3 separate regions of the Homo sapiens genome follow, and all the other regions are linked to region 1. The links are contacts of gene promoters, found by promoter capture Hi-C in human tissues and cell types (Jung and others, 2019). All regions are on one chromosome and are shown on one strand. Each heading gives the region's core, a stretch centred on a gene start or on the middle of the fragment in contact. The rest is flanking DNA. Distances are from core to core; before and after follow the strand shown.

Region 1 (3,675 bases), core at 668-3,167:
CCCAGTTTTCCTTCCTTAATCCACAGACAACCACACTTAAAGGACAGCTAAGAAGCCGCAATCCCTTCCCAGCAAATAGTGCTTATTATCTTACAGAGCAGGTTCACATCTTGTCACTTCACTTTGACCTCCTGGTTATCCTGCCTATTTTGTAGGAAAGGAAACTGAGGCCTACAAAGGTTGGGTCAATTGTCCTAGGTCATGTGGAGGGCAATCGGTTCAGCCAGGATTTAAACCGCCTTTGCTCTGTTTCTGGTCCTCATAGGTTCTCTACCAGAACTACAGAAGGACAGGAAGAGCTAGAAAAACCATTCCAGAGCTCAACTATAACTGGGCATAAACTCTGAGCTCATTAGAAAACTAGAAAACTATATCCTTTTGCTCTTGTTCACAACTTTTAAGTTGAACTTATCCATAAAGAGGAATTACCATGTTTACAGATTGTAGTGGCCTGATTTGCATATGCTTATCATGAAAATAAACATGATTATGGTTGTTTTTTCCCCTAAGTCTAGTTGGCAGAGAGCAACTTCGTCCCTCCTTGGCACCTGTCTCAACTGTCATAGACCAAGCTGTCCCTCCTAGATGAGGTCTCTTTCCACCCCCTACACCCCACTGTCTTTTAGCAGCTGGAAGTTTAAGGCCTGTGGGAAATTGAAGATTAATTTTTAGTCAGTGTTTTTTTTTTCTCTTTTCTTTAAATCACCAACTCTGAGAATTCTAGATGTTACTCTGCATATGTGTGCTCCACAACTATCAACTTTCACAATTTGGGATCTGCTACAAAACGGGCTTCCGAGCTCCCTTCCTGTCCCTCCACACAGGTCTCAAGCCTCCTCTGTCTCTGCTCCCTCTGCACGTTTCTGCCTTTCCCTTGTCCATGGCCTTGGTGGGACCCACCATTTTTTGCTCTTCTTTCTAGAGAATGAGTCTTGTCTCCAACTAGATGGGAAAAACCACTCAGGACAAGACCATCAGAACAGCACTGGGCTACTGATTTGTATGCTGTGCATATGGTCACTGTTCACATAATAACAGGTATTTTCTTAGTCATACTGTGCGTCAAGCACAGTGCATACTGTCCTGGGCATTTTTACTCAACACCAACACTGTGGAGCACCCATCATGAGCTTCTGTAGGCTGGGACTCACAACTATGTGCATCTCTCTTCATCAGGCACCTTGTCAAAAGCCATCCACACTATGGGGATAACGCTGCAAGTATTTGGTGAACGTGTGTGTGTTAAGTACCACTTAATTTTCCGCTCATTGGGCACCATTTACAAACAGTGGAAGATCTGTGAAAATTCCCATGAGGCAGCACAGCAGCATCCAGAGGCCACCACACACGTCTCATGGCTACTCTCCACCCTGCGATGATGGTCTGCACAGCGCTTCTTCCTGGGGTAGCTCCCAAGTAACCTCCATTCAGCTTTCCTCCTGCTGTTCCATGGTGCTTGTCTTCCAGCAGAATCTCTCTCACTTTAACAATTAAATGGACAACCCAGGAAACCTACACTTGGAATTCAGCGAAAGAAATGTTAGTCTCCTGTGGAGTGTCTCATTAGGTTAAAAGAAAGTTACTGAAAAGTCTGATGGGAAAATGAATTTCTACATTTTGCTTAGGGCCCAAAAAGAATCCCAGATTTTATTTCCATTGAAGTGCATATAGTAGTATTTATTTTGATTCAGGGAGATGCGGTTCATTTTTAATATTCACAAAAGCTTCTTGACATCAGATCCAAAGCTTGTGCTGTGGAGATATGGTTGAACATTCTCACACAGCATCACTGAGCCAGAGAGCAACCTGAGAAACCTCAGAACTCCATGTGCGGGAAGATTCCATCCGACTTCATAAAATAATACCTGGACCTGAGAACTCTACATGTGGGAAGATTCCATCCAGCTTCATAAAATAATACCCAGATCTTCAAGGTTGGCAAAGAAGAGAAAAGCTCCTTGGGAACTTAGTTACCAGGTCTTATAGCACCAGCTCTGTGTCCTCAGAGTCGCTGTCATCAAGGAGACCTCTCACTGGTCACCGCCGCAGCCCCCACATGGACCAGTATGTGTCCACAGCTCCTCCCCGATTCCCTATAGCACAGCTGGGAACATTTAAACAAGACTCTGCAGGAATGGGACGGATATTCAAGGGGAATTTGCTGCAGAAGAAAGCACTTACCACAGTGAGTTTATGGGTCTTTAACTTTGGGTTATGAGAGAGACGTATCACTGCACAGGTATGGTCCTACAAAGCACTCTTTTGCCCCAATCTCCTGTGAGTGCTCTGTCTCTCAAATCCAGATTCTACGAAGTTTAAGATGAGACGTCAATCCAGAGCTCTTTCTTTCTCAGTTCTGGCCAAGACAACCTCCCAATTCCAATTCCCAATCTGAGGAAGAGCTGCCCCTTTCAGAAAAGGTACTGGGCCCTCCCCTTGACATTACATCAGTATACAGGCCAATGAGTCAATGATCTCTCCCCTACAGAGAGAGCCTCTTAACACAGATGCAAGGATACCTCCAAATGCTTTAAGCCTAGGTGCACCTGCAACACCTACAAACTCAACCTACCCAGACAAATTTGATACTGCACTCCTAGAAGAAAGTTTCTTTTCCTTCATTACAGGACAGAAGCAAAAGTTGCAACAAATTTAACCATTCATGAACCAGTAGCCAATGTGCAGGCAACAGATGGCATTTATAGACACCCCATTTGCAGAGGTGATGGGGTGATCAATAGCTTCTGAAAAGGAAGTTTATGACCCAGTCATATATCGGAAAGGTTAAAGTCCTAAGACAAAATTTCTGGAATGTCTTCTCCTGTAGCACAGGGTTCCTCTTAGTGTTTCTGACTGTGAAGAGGAGATGGATGGGAGCAGGCAGGTAGCATCTCCTTCCTCTGTCTTGATCCCCACTGCTGCTTCTTTATTTCCTTTTCCTTTTTCCATTTTTTTTTTTTTTTTTTTTTTTTTTTTTTTTTTTTTTTTACATTTTAAAAGTAATGGTCTAGGGCCGGGTGCAGTGGCTCATGCCTGTAATCTCAGCACTTTGGGAGGCCGAGGCGAGGAGATCACAAGGTCAGGAGATTGATACTATCCTGGCTAACACAGTGAAACCCCATCTCTACTAGAAATACAAAAAATTAGCCAGTCGTGGTGGCGGGCACTTGTAGTCCCAGCTACTTGGGAGGCTGAGGCAGGAGAATGGTGTGAACCCGGGAGGCAGAGCTTGCAGTGAGCCGAGATTGTGCCACTGCACTCCAGGCTGGGTGACAGAGCGAGACTCTGTCCCTCAAAAAACAAACAAACAAACAAACAAACAAACAAATAAATAAATAAAAGTAATGGTCTTAAAGTTCTTCAGTCTTAAACAAATTATAGAAGGCTTTAAAAGCTGGTTTTGTGCATTTCATATGTGATAGTTGTAAGTCGATTTGAAGTCCTTCTAATACTTTATAAATTTCATCAATCAACATCCAGGTAGGTAGAATCTTAGGTACATGATGATGGTTATGAATTAATACTAGGCCGGTGTGTGCTGGGTTTGTCTCCAGGCCTTGCGTGAGGGCTGTGATGGGGTGCATGACTCAGGAGGCACTCGGTGGGCAATCAAAAGAGGCAATGGTAACACAGCACCTCAAACATTTCAGGGCAGCTGGTCTGCACCAGGTACAC
Region 2 (3,777 bases), core at 381-2,880, 35 kb before region 1:
CGACTCTGGCTGGCTCCCACCACAACATACATTTGGCATCCATGACAGCACCATCAAAAATAATAGCGAGAAAGCTCACTGTCTGTCACGACGGAATAATTATGTATGGGCTTTCCTTACACTCAAGATGGATTAGATATTTCATTGAGGAAAATATATGTGGCTTTTAAAAAGAATGTAATGTATTGAGGGCACTGCTGAGATTAATAGCCAAATAAAGAATTTTTTAAAAAAAGTTCTGTGTGTGTATGTGTGTGTGTGTGAACATGTCACTCATGAAGCGATGGGAGATGTCATTCCTAAGCTGGTTAATTACAAAATGCATTAATGTTTTATTATACCCTTATCAGTAATTAATCACCCACTTTGATGTAAAGTTCAGCCTCAGAAAAGTATCATGAAATTGTCCTTCATGTATGAATGAGGATTTTTAGGGGTGAACAAAGACCATGACAAAGATAGAAGTGCATTCCCCCGGAAAGAGGACAGGGATTAGCCTTGTGTGAATCTTACACTGTGTGTGTTTTACCCTTGGGGTGTTTATGAGGCCAGAACCAAAGGAAGCAAGAGAGAGAGAGACAGAGCAAAGGAAGAGAGAGAGAGAGAGAGAGAGAGAGAGAGAGAGAGAGACAGAGAGGGGGTTGTCTCTACAACAGGGGGATGGGGAGCTTTCCTTAGTGGTGTTCTTCAGGTGCAGAGTTTGAATAAAAATGCAAAACAGGATGCTCCCATTCAGTAAATATTATCGTTTTTATTCACTCATTAATTAAGTTGCTTAATTGCTGCTGTCAAAAGACTCTTGAGTTTGTGACTGGGGCTGCTGCACTGTTTTGATAGGAGCTGAAGGAGAGAAAGGCAATATTGCTTGCTCGCTTGGCTTTCTGAAGAAGGAAGCCTCAGTGAGGCAGATCAGAAAGGATCCAAGAGGGTGATGTGGAGAGGGAACACTGCTTCTGGGGGGAAACGGCCAGTTGCAGGACTCCTATAGGAGGCTATTTCATTACTGTGATGGATGCCCATCGCCGGCATATTATCATTTCAGTCATTACTCTGTTAAAATCACTTTTATGCAAAATATTTCCCCCTTTAATCTAACTTCCCAAGAGGGGCAGGAATGGAAATAGACTCTGGCCTTGTCAGTCAACACAATCCTACATCCCTTTGTATCTGCTTCAGAGGAATGACTCCGGGCTGTTTCGGAACACATCCTGTCCACTGCACTCCATCTGCAAATTCCCAGTGCTTCCAGGGCCTCCCATGCATAATGCTCCACGTTTCTTCACACTGGGGTGATCACATGTCCCACAGAGCCTAAGCCAGACTGCCGCTCAGCAAACACATACCAGAAATAGCCTACAAAGTGTCTTGGTGCTGACATTTGATTAATGTTCCCTGGCCTTTCCGTGCTCAAATATGCTTTATTTGAAATATTTGAATAACCTTTGAGCACACCCTTCCTAATTTGTCACCCTGTGCACACCCAAAAATAATAGACAGGCTAATCCCGTAGTAACAGCGCCCTCTTGCCCAGGAAGAGATTGCTCCCGCCATGTCTAAGCACACTGGGCTTCCCCAGAGGGGTGGCTCCACCCCATCTACCACCGAAGCATGGAAAAACAATGAAGAACAACAACACTGGCCCACTGGCATCACCCTCAATGGGAAAAGTGACGGTGGATCTGCACAGTAAACATGGGTGTGTGTATCTGACCTTCCCCAGAGTCTCAGGTAGAGGGGAGCTCCAATCAAGTTAACTCTGCTTCCCTGCCTGAGGGCAACTAAATGTTTTTCTTTTGCCTTTCACAGTGTAGCTACTCCTCCAACCAGTGGAGCCAAGGGCATCTATGTGTGCATGCATAGGCCACTTTGCATTGCCTGTGTATCGTGTACATGTGTAGGTTGTTGCATATGTGTGCATGTGTGGATGGTTGCATATGTGTCCATGTGTCCATGTTCCCTACTTTCTCAATGACCTCAATTGCATGCTTATTGGGTGCCTGGCTGATAGTTTATCTAAGAGGAGCTGCCACGTGGTGAGCCTCACCTGCAGGCTGGAAAACCAAGCCACACAGATAACATGATGAAGGGCTAGGAGGTCAGGCCAGTTAGCTAATGAGTTACTTGAATCTTTATTTTTTTGTTAAAATACAGCTAGACATGTTGGAATCCTGATGTCAAATCGCTATGAATTTTGTGCCAAAAAAAAAAAATCTTCATTTTCCGGGCTGCCATGGGCTTTGCTTGCATATGCTGGGCAATTACTCTCTCCTTTGCCATGAGGAGGGTAGGAAGAAAGGAGGGAGGGAGGGAGGGAGGGAGGGAGGGAAGGTTGAGAAGCATCTCAGTTCACAGCATTATTCTCATCCTCTTCAATTTTCTGAGAAATTCATTTGCATTTAGGACAAGGTGACTTGGACTTGCTTCTGTTTTCCACTACCTTCATGAAGGAAGGTGGGGAATAGTTGTTATAATTTTCTAACACTTAACTTACAAATCTAATGGTTTTATTTGACTGTCAAACCCAACTCTGTGAGACATATTTAAATGCCTTGGTATCTTGCATCTAGGGGTAATTAGGTAAGATTGATTAGGTAAGATACTAACCATGGGGACTATCAAATCCCTATAATGGGCTGAATGTGTCCCCCCAAAATTCATATGTTGAAATCCTAACCCTAATGTGATCTTATTAGGAGGCGGGACCTTTGCGAGGTGATTAGGTCATGAGGGTGAAGCCCTCATAATTGGAATTCCTGTCCTTATAAAAAGACACCAGAGAGCCCCTTCACCCCTTTTGCCATGTGAAGACACAGTGAGGAAGCAGGGCCTCACCAGGCACTGTACCCAGCCTCCAGAATTGTAAGAAATAAATTTCTGTAGGTTATAAGCCACACAACCTATGGCCTTTTGTTATAGCAGCCCAAATGGACTAAGACAGGGGTCATTATATCCTACGACTGGTAGACAGAGATGCTGAAGTTTGTATAGACCAGGAAACCCAGGAGCTCAAATCATAAGGAACCTGGAGCAGAGGGAGGGGAGGGTGGAAAAGGGAGACTAGCGGAGCAAGAGCTCTAACACGATCATGCTGCAAATTCAGGATGAGTTAGAGGGAGGCAACACCATGTCTACATCACTACACTTCCAATAACATTAAATGATTTAGATGATCTCAAGCTTCTGAAAATAGCAGCATGAACACAAGTGTTGATCTAAAACAGGAAGATTACAACCATACCACAGATATATGAAATATTTTCCAGGAAAAGAAAAAAAGCCACCAGGGGAAATATGGTTTTACCTGTTATTATTCTTGTCGTGTTGCAAGCATTCAGGTAGATAGTCTTTGTTTGAGTAGGAAATGACACAACTTTATGCAATATGGACAACATTCTGGAACAAAATTCTAAAAAATGTAAAATTCTAGTTTTTGACATCAAAAGTCAAATGTTCTAAAAAATGAAGAAAGAATTATTTCACTTAGTGCTTATGTTGGCTTTCTATTACTACTACAACAAATTACCACAAACCTACAGACTTGAAACAGCACAGAGTTATCATCTTGCTGTACCGTGGGTCAGAAATCAAACACGGGTCTCCCTGAGCTAAGATCCAGCTGTAGGCAGGGTGTGTTTCTTTGTTTGCTGGAGAGGAGAATCCATTCCTTCCTTTTCCAGCTTCTAGAGGTCACCCACCATCTTTGGTTGGCAGCCCCTTCCTCCATCTGCAATCCTGTCTTCTGATTTAAGTACCCTGTCAATCTCTTTAACTACCCTC
Region 3 (3,406 bases), core at 386-2,885, 47 kb after region 1:
GTATCTGGATTATTAACTAGCAACCAGGTGATCCCAAATCATTAAGCTGTGTTGTAGTGAATGCTCACTCTGCTGAGGAGCTCTTCTTCTCCAATGTCTTCTTTGAGAATATCTGTGAGTTCCTACATGCATGAGAAAGCTAAATTGAGGTTGAGGAACAGATACTGGTTCAGTAACACACACCCCAAAACTCCATTTTTCTATGGAATATGCAGCAGCAACTGTTCCACTGACTCGGAAAGTTGCCTCCATTCCCCGTCCCTTTCACTTGTCACTTTCGTGGGTATTTCTAGAATGATTGTCCATATCACTGTTGCAATGCTTATATGCCTTATGCGTTATCCTTTTAATAAGTCCAGACTGAGAGAGCACTTTAAGACCATCAAATAAAAGCTGATCTAGAGTGACTGTCGCATTGCCTAGCCCGTAATATCAGTACAAGTTAATTTTCACAGATCCTAAAGAAACGTGACTGTCAACTGGGAATCCAAGCGAACAAGAATTCCATCTCACAGCAAAGTCTGGAGTTAACATGTAACTCTACCTAGATGCGGTCATTGTTAAAGGACATGTGGGAGGCTACCCTTTCAAGATTATTTTTGACAGGAATGGGTTAATCTTGTAATCTTTTCTCTTCTTGTTCCAGTCGCTGGGCTGTCTATAGGGTAGGTAAATGTGGTGCTATTTTCCGGTTTTGTTTCACTGTTTGTCAAGAGAGTGGGCCAATTTCATACCATTTGCCGCTTTCGTTACTGTCTCAAGGTTGTCACAAGAATTGATAAATTTCAGACTGTTTTTCTTGTCCTCATTACAATCTTAAGGTTGTCATGAGAATAAATTGATTTTGTGCCGTTTTTTGGTCCTCATTACCGTCTTTGTCATGAGAATGGCTTCATTTGGAGCCATTTCTGTTCCTGTAGCCATTTTTGTCATGAATGGCTACATTGAGAAGAGATTCATCAATGGAAAGAAACAGACCCCATCTTGGGGCTGATCTTTGGGGCAGCGAGCTCTCGAGCAGAGGCCCAGCGAGAGCTGAGGCAGGGATAAACCATAGCCCTTCTTGTGCAGAGTTCACCATTGTGACTTTTGTGACCCTGGTGTAATCACAGAAAACAGACAACAAACAAAGCTCCCATCTTCAGTTACTGCTCCTGGCCTGATTTCCTCCTGAAGGACAGATAATCCTCTAGGTTGGCTCTTGAGGACATTGACAGGGAGTGACCTGGTGATCCAGAAGGAAACCTGGAGAGAGGAAAGCCATGTCGGTTGGACGTGGAAGGCAGCAGTTCACACGGAGGAGTTTTGGCAGGACTCATGTCTCAAAGCTACACGTTAACATCGTTGGTTCCAGCAACTTCCTGATTATGGGAAGTGAGAAGGCACAAACATGTTCCCAAAATTCAACTCTCCAAGATGCTCTAACTACTCCAAAATATGTTTTATTTCTTTTAGTGCAAAAATATTCAGATCCTAATGAACTCAAACTAGATGCAAGCAAACAGAGCAGCCTTCCTTGGAACCCAGATGGGGACTTGGTGTCAGAGGCAGAGCAGAGGCCAGTCTTCAATAACATCACATGCTCAGAATTAGCGGGAAGATCCTTGGCTAAAGATTTCAGCAGCTTGCTATATTAGAGAGACATTTGCAGTCAGCATTTAAGAGAAAGGTCCAGATGGTCAGTGAGCAAAGATGTACAAATCAGGGAGCAGAAGTGATTTTAGGGTTGTGCTGTCCAGGGATGGGTTGCGTTAATTATTTTTGTTCATCTCTTTGACCAATTTTAAATCAAGCAATCAGTTTTATCTCCTGGCTTTTTTATACAAAATACATTATTTGGTTGACTTAATTAATTACAGACCACAAGCTGGAGAGGCATTAGGAGGATGATCTGAAGGAAATGAGGACCGGAAAGAGGAGGTTTTAAATACATATGTGCTTGAGGACCTCCGGGCTTCCTGGAAATAGACAAGCTGTATGGCCTGTAACAGAGAAAGAAGGATTTATAATAATGGACTTATTCAAGTAGTCCGGCACCTGGGTAAAATTAGGGCTGAAAGTGGAAACAACCTAAAAGGCCATCAACTGGTAACGGATAAATAAAATGTGCTATATCCATACAATGGAATACTATTCAGCCATGGAAAAGAATGAAGTACTGATACAAGCTACAACGCAGATATACCTCAAAAAACATTGTTAGGTGAAACAAGCCAGACACATAAAACCACAAATTATTTGATTCTGTTTACTTGAAACGTCCAGAATAGGCAAACCAATTAAGACAGGAATTACAGCAGTGGTTGGCTAGGGCTGGGTAGCCAAAGGGGGGAATGACTACTAATGAGCATGGAGTTTCTTTGTGGGGTTTGATGGAAATGTTCTAAAGTTAGATTATGGTGATGGTCGCACAATTATGTAAATTTCCTATAATTCATTGGGCTGTACAGTGAAAACAGGTAACTATTTGATGGAATGTAAATTGTACATCAATAAAGTTGGTTTTAGTTTTTAAGTAGCTTAGAGGTTTTTGAATATTTGCCCTAGTAGACCATAGACATGGCTAAAGTAAAGTGGATTTTAGGGAGGGTGGCAGAAAGATTCACAGAAATTGATGGGTCAGTTTCATTTTTTAAGTGAAGAAGAAAAATAACAATCTTGTAAACATTTGCCTTGTGAGGACACCAAAATAGGGAAGTTGGGTACTCAATGAAATTGAGGAGGACTTTAATGATCAATTAATGGGCTGTAAGCGAACAGGAAGCGATATGAGAAAGAAACATGATTAGCAGGAGAGCTGTTACAGGAAGGAAACACCAAAACTGCTACAGTTGAATCCAATGGCATTTTCTAGTAATTGAAAGAGGAACATTTTATTTTACCTCCCAGTAAAGCAAACCCATTCTATTTAAGTTGACCTTGACACTCTTGGATTGGGCACCCAAGAATTGGGTAGGGATGCTTGGAGATGCTGTGATTTTGAGGTGCTGAAGGTCATCTAAATGAAGAGAAAGGCACATCATTGCTTTCCAAGAGTGCCAGGGGTGAGTGTGAGAAGAGGATGCATGAATCACAAGGGTAGATGCAAGCAAACCCCCTTCCAGAAATCCCAAACAAGAAGAGGGAGCCCAAGTTAAGCTTTGCCGACTTGGGAAATAATGAAAGAAAAAGGTAATTAGGGAAAAGAAATAGAGGAAAAGAGAAGGGATGGTAAGAGATTTCTGGGAATGTGGCTAATGATTTGGGCATTGCTGCTATCAAATTATGGTGATGGGACCGGGGACCTGTATTTCCATGTTGTTTGACAGTGTTGCAGGGTTAATGTCCTTGGGCCCAGCCTAATAAACTGTGGTCCTTACAGGTTAAACTTAATAGAACGCCTGGATTGTTCTTAGGGAGCAAGGAG

Evidence for each region. Contacts are between HindIII fragments. The study calls those that stand out against the background at their distance.
Region 2: a fragment that was not itself captured here is called in contact with the fragment with the promoter of SMIM21 in region 1 in 2 of the 25 tissues and cell types used here (lymphoblastoid cells and spleen).
Region 3: a contact is called between a fragment that was not itself captured here and the fragment with the promoter of SMIM21 in region 1, in 1 of the 25 tissues and cell types used here (adrenal gland).

What each region holds. Positions count from the first base shown.
Region 1 is chr18:75,425,945-75,429,619 of GRCh38, reverse strand. SMIM21 (small integral membrane protein 21) reads left to right here and starts at 1,917. Exons shown (of 3, transcript NM_001037331.3): 1 at 1,917-2,185. The coding sequence starts at 2,057. It overlaps LOC105372200 (a long non-coding RNA gene), which reads right to left. Exons shown (of 4, transcript XR_935636.3): 4 at 2,959-3,675. The HindIII fragment of the contact is 8,486 bases long and covers 1-3,675 here.
Region 2 is chr18:75,460,151-75,463,927 of GRCh38, reverse strand. The region is part of intron 2 of LOC107985177 (a long non-coding RNA gene); the gene reads right to left. Among named protein-coding and RNA genes, the nearest start is that of SMIM21, 34 kb to the right of the region's middle. The HindIII fragment of the contact is 3,774 bases long and covers 1-3,517 here.
Region 3 is chr18:75,379,343-75,382,748 of GRCh38, reverse strand. No RefSeq gene overlaps it. Among named protein-coding and RNA genes, the nearest start is that of SMIM21, 47 kb to the left of the region's middle. The HindIII fragment of the contact is 5,378 bases long and covers 1-3,406 here.